Linked DNA regions of Homo sapiens: region 2 is linked to region 1. The links are contacts of gene promoters, found by promoter capture Hi-C in human tissues and cell types (Jung and others, 2019). All regions are on one chromosome and are shown on one strand. Each heading gives the region's core, a stretch centred on a gene start or on the middle of the fragment in contact. The rest is flanking DNA. Distances are from core to core; before and after follow the strand shown.

Region 1 (2,700 bases), core at 198-2,697:
AGTTATGATCCTCCAGACATTGTATTCCTTGGATATTGCAAACTCATGTATCTGACTAGCAATGCACATTCGCAATTACATGTTTAAAAGTCAGTTTAGAGAGGCTAGCTCTGCTTTTATTTTTCTTTCTGGACGTGCCTCTATCTGCGTTCTGCTGAGAGCAATTCACTGTTTTTTTTCCTAGCTCACATTATAGCATTTAACATAACTCATATTAATCATAATTATTGTTGTTAAATTTCTGGCAAAAATCAAAGATACAAGGGAACAGGAATTGTATTTATTATGTTCACTTAAGAAAAATCTTCCTTTACTTAAAATTTGAATAAAATAATGATAGGTAACTGAACTGTACCATCTGTTTTTAATCAAGTTATACAATCAGGCTTGGAGTTTCATTTTAAAGAATAAACAAACAATTAATAGTAAAAATCTAATGAACAAAGCAAAATAATCAGTTGACAAAACATAAAGAACATATTTTATTATATTAGCCACAAAGTAAAGGTGGATGTAATATTACCTGAACAAACATAATTTAAAATAATTTAAATCTTATAAATAAATAAATATTTAAATAGATTAGATAGAAGACAGACAGATAGATAAATAGATAGAATAGATAGATTGGCATGATCATCTGTAAAGATTTTGTCCCTGTGGAGCTAAAGAAGTGTTGCTTAACACGTGTGAAACGTTTGAAAATTTTGATTCAACTCAAGTCATGGATATAGCAGAAATTAATATTTGAAACGGCAGAACTCAAGAAGTGTGAAATGGTGTACTAGTCAATGAGAATCATTTCGATGTTGAACCAGTTTTCATTCCTTCCTCCTTAATCTTTCTTGCAAGTTTGCTGATAAAGAGAAGGATCTCATGATTTCTGCTCTGACAACCTCCCATGCACAAGGGCTGTATTTCTTCTCTGTCAGATAGAGGGTGATTCTTTGAAAGTATTTTCTCACAGTCAGGATAGAGTCCACATTCATCAGAGGAGTGTCTTCCACTCCAACCTCCTGCATCATACAGGCTTCCAGGTCATTCAGCTGCTGGTAAAGTTCAGTGTAGAATTTGTCTAGAAGTGTCTCATCCCAAGTAGCAGATGAGTCCTTTGTGCTGAAGAGATTGAAGGTCTGCTGGATCATCTCATGGAGGACAGAGATGGCTTGAGCCTTCTGGAACTGGTTGCCATCAAACTCCTCCTGAGGAAATCCAAAGTCATGTCTGTCCTTCAGGCAGGAGAAAGGAGAGATTCTTCCCATTTGTGCCATTATCATCAAAGTCCTCCTGTTACTCAGGCTGTGGGTCTGAGGCAGATCACAGCCCAGAGAACAGATTGACTTGCAGTTGAGCACCACCAGGGCCATCAGTAAAACAAAGGGCAAGGCCATTGGGGAGGTTGCAGATGCTTCTGGGCTGTTGAGATTGAGTGACCCTGAACCTTGGGCTCTTCTCTGAAGACCTTGTTTTGTGCACAGATCTTAAAAAGGTCACATACGAGTTTCCATTTTCTGAATGCCTTGTGTTACTTTCTACTTCTCTTTTTGCTTTCTTTTATGCTCTTTCTACATAGATGTACAGGAGTGTTTCTCAGTTTATTTATTTTTACATTATTACCTCATCTTCCTCTGCCACATATGCTTTTTAGAAATTTTTTTTCTAACTAAAAATCCCATTAAATTTTAATAACACAGATATACTATGTGTTGGCTGATGTATATACATTACAGTACCCATTATCGAGAGAGAATATTGTACTTCTTTAATGCTTTAAAAGCAGCGTAATAGAATGTAAAATAGAATTTATTCAGTCCCGGATTAAGAATGAGCAAATGAAAATTCTAAGGTAAAAGTTAATAATTAAATTTACAATTTATGGATATTTAACTTCATAGTTCAATTTGTTTAAGTAACAATGTGATTTATTTACTTATATAAATTGTAGTGTGTCAGATTAAATAAGTAAATTAACAAATTATGAAAATATATAATATTGCCTAGTATAATGAAATATTTAAAAATTCAAAATAGCTAAAGACTATTAAAATTGAAATTATTTGTAACATTTATTTTTAGGGTACTTTCAATTTTGCTTCATAGGGAAATTTAAAAAATTCACTAGCTTCTAGATATTGATCTAGATATTGTCAAAAACCTTTTTCTCTTCAGTGCTTGACATAATTATTGATGTGTTGAACAACTTTAGTAGAATTAAATAGTAAAAGATAAAGTATTTTTATTGAAACCTCAAAACTCAAAACACAGTCATAAATGCTCAGGATCAAATATAAGCAACATACACAAGACAGCAAATGACAGCTCATATGTATACAGAGGCCACCTCACATGATATGACTTTGACATCTAATAAATCTTGGAAAGTCCTCCAATAACAGCCACCCATTTGCCATATGCTTGTAGCACTGATCTTGTATACCTTTTGTGTATCTTCCATGAACTCAAGGTCAATGCTTCTGATGTTACAAGAAAACCAAATTAGGCCAGGCGCGGTGGCTCACATCTGTAATCCCAGCACTTTGGGAGGCTGAGGTGGGTGGATTACAAGGTCAGGAGATCAAGACCCTCCTGGACAACATGGTGAAAGCCCGTCTCTACTAAAAATACAAAAATTAGCTGGGCGTGGTGGCACGTGCCTGTAATCCCAGCTACTCGGGAGGCTGAGGCAGGAGAATTGCTTGA
Region 2 (2,700 bases), core at 99-2,598, 220 kb after region 1:
ACTCTTTTTCCATATTTAGAGCTTCCTTGAGAAGCTCTTGTAAGGCAGGTTGGGAGGTAATGAATTCCATCAGCATTTGCTTGATTGGAAAGGATCTTATTTCTCCTTTGCTTATGAAGACTCGTTTGACAAGATATGAAATTCTGGGTTAGAATTTTTTTAGGAATGTTGAATATTGGTCCCCAATCTCTTTTGGTTTGTAGGGTTTCTGCTGAGAGATCTGCTCTTAGTGTGATAGGCTTCCCTATGTAGGTGACCTGACCTTTCTTTCTAGCTGCCTTTAACATTTGCTCTTTCATTTTGACCTTGGAGAATCTGATAATTATGTGTCTTGGGGATGATCTTCTTGTGAAGTACCTTACTAGGGTTCTCTGCACTTCCTGAATTTGAATGTTGGCTTCCCTACCTAGGTTGGAAGTGTTTCCATGGATGATATCCTGAAATACATTTTACAAGTTGCTCATACTCTCCTCATCTCTTTCCAATCAGGGACATCAATGGGTCACAGATTTGGTCTCTTTACAGAACTCCATATTTTTCAGAGGTTTTGTTCATTCATTTCCATTCTTTATTCTCTATTCTTGTCTGACTGTCTTATTTCAGAAAGCCAGTCTTCAAGCTCTGATTCTTTCCTCCTCTTGTTCTGCTCTGCTATTAATAATTGTGACTGCACCATGAAATTCTTGTAGTGTGTTTTTCAGCTCTATTAGGGTGGTTATGTTCTTTTCTACACTGGCCATTGTGTCTGTCAGCTCCTGCACTGTTTTACTGTGATTCTTAGCTTCCTTGGATTGGGTTTCAATGTGCCCTGAAGCCCAGTGATCTTTGTTCCTATCCATATTTTGAATTTTATTTCTGTCATTTCAGCTATCTCAGCCCAGTTCAGAACACTTGCAGTTGTTTATAGGAAAGAAGGTACTCTGGCTTTTGAGTTGTCAGTGCTCTTCTGCTGGTTCTTTCTCATTTTTATGAGCTGGTGCTTCTTCAATCTTTGAAGTTGCTGACTGTTGGATGTTTTTATTTTCCTTTTATCTTACTTGATGACCTTGAGAGTTTGTGGTATAAGGTGGATTTAGTCTACTGGTTTGTTTCTGGAAGGTTTTAGGGGGCCAACACTCAGCTCCCAACCTCAGGACTGTGTGCTCATAGTGCAGTGGCAGCAGCATTCTTCCTCATTTGCATATGCCAGCAGCAGTGACAGCGCAGCAGGGTACATGCTCATCAGCTGTGACAGGGTACCAGTGGGTTACTGGGTGCCTGCCTCCGTGCAGGTGTTCACCACAGTGGTGGAGACAGCAGGGTTCCAGAGGTTGGGGACCCCTGCTGGTGATTATTACACATGATTGTGCTGTCTTGGGGATGCATAGGGGCAGGGTGCTGGTGGGTACAGGTCTGTATGCATTCTCTGTGAACTGCATGAAGGGGTGGTTTCTCAGGGTAGGGGAGGGTCTGCTGTTCTCTGTGCCTAGTTTCACTTCTGTGTCAGTGTTGGTGCAAGGATGTGGTGCTAGTGGGAGTGGGGCTGATTTTCCATGGGTCCACCAACACTCTGACTGCAATGGTGGTCTGGCAGGGGAAGAAAGAGCAGAGTGCAACCCCACTGCGGCAGTGGCAGAGGAGGGTGCACGCACACAGGCACACTGACAGAACAAAGGTGGCAAAACCTGCTCCCATACACACGTGCTGGCAAAGCAATGTGGGAGGTTGCTTTGGGCCCTGGGGAAGTGGCTGTGCGGGGAGGGTGTGGGTGGGCTGGTGTGTGGCTGTGGGGGTTGCTCTGCTGGAGCTCTCCACTAGTCAGGCAGGGTCCACCAGTGCAGAAGCTATGATGTGGGCCCCCAGGGTACCCGAGGCTGCCCTGCAAGTAGGTGTGGCCAGGCTGGGACCTAGGAGAGGCCAGCACACCAAGTGGTGCTCAGATCAGACTGGCGCCATATGGTGGGTAAGACCACCCTGCAGAGTTCAGGTCCAACAGTTCCCCTAGGGCTAAGGTCTCCTATGGGAGCAAGTCGAGCCTAGGGAGATGGGCTTCCCTGGCAGTGCTCTACTACAGACACTCCCACACCAAGAGCTCTGGGCTCCACTTCAGCTGGCATGAGGCTCCTACCACTTCTCTAAGCAGCCAGAGGCCCGTGGTGAAAGTGGCTTGCTCCTTGCCAGTTCAACTCACCAGTTCCCCTGGAGTCTTTAAGGGCCAGGAATGAGTCCCGGTGCATGGTAATCCTGTGCAGAATTCCAAGCTTCCTCCCACTTCAGCCCAGCTTCTGTGTCTTCCTTCCATCTACTCTCGGTGCCTTCCCTCTGAATATCTGTTAGGAGTGTGCGCCAGTGTCTTGGTCCATCAGTGGTAGCTGTTCTTCCTGGGTCCATCTGGTTGGCCATCTTGCTCTCTCCCTGCAATTTCTTAACTAAAACAGCATTAATCAACTCTCCTTTAAAGAAATAGCATGGGATGCCATTTAGCATTTTGCCCATAGTAAGATTTCCTTCAAAACTGGAGTCAATCTTCTCAAACACTGCAACTGCTTTATCAACTAAGTTTATGGAATATTCTAAATCCTTTATTGTCATTCCAACAATATTCACGGCATCTTCACAAGGAGTTGTTCCACCTCAAGAAACCACTTTCTTGATCACCTATAAGAATCAACTCCTTATCTATTAAAGTTTTATTATACGACTGCAGCAATTCAGTCACAT

Evidence for each region. The method cuts DNA at HindIII sites, captures the fragments that hold promoters and counts their contacts. A contact is called where the count stands out against the background at its distance.
Region 2: a contact is called between a fragment that was not itself captured here and the fragment with the promoter of IFNA5 in region 1, in 1 of the 25 tissues and cell types used here (lymphoblastoid cells).

What each region holds. Positions count from the first base shown.
Region 1 is chr9:21,303,866-21,306,565 of GRCh38, forward strand. IFNA5 (interferon alpha 5) reads right to left here and starts at 1,448. Exons shown (of 1, transcript NM_002169.3): 1 at 461-1,448. The coding sequence starts at 1,391. The coding sequence ends at 822. The region is part of intron 2 of LOC107987053 (a long non-coding RNA gene); the gene reads left to right. The HindIII fragment of the contact is 6,884 bases long and covers 1-2,700 here.
Region 2 is chr9:21,526,524-21,529,223 of GRCh38, forward strand. The region is part of intron 1 of MIR31HG (MIR31 host gene); the gene reads right to left. Among named protein-coding and RNA genes, the nearest start is that of MIR31, 16 kb to the left of the region's middle. The HindIII fragment of the contact is 3,478 bases long and covers 1-2,700 here.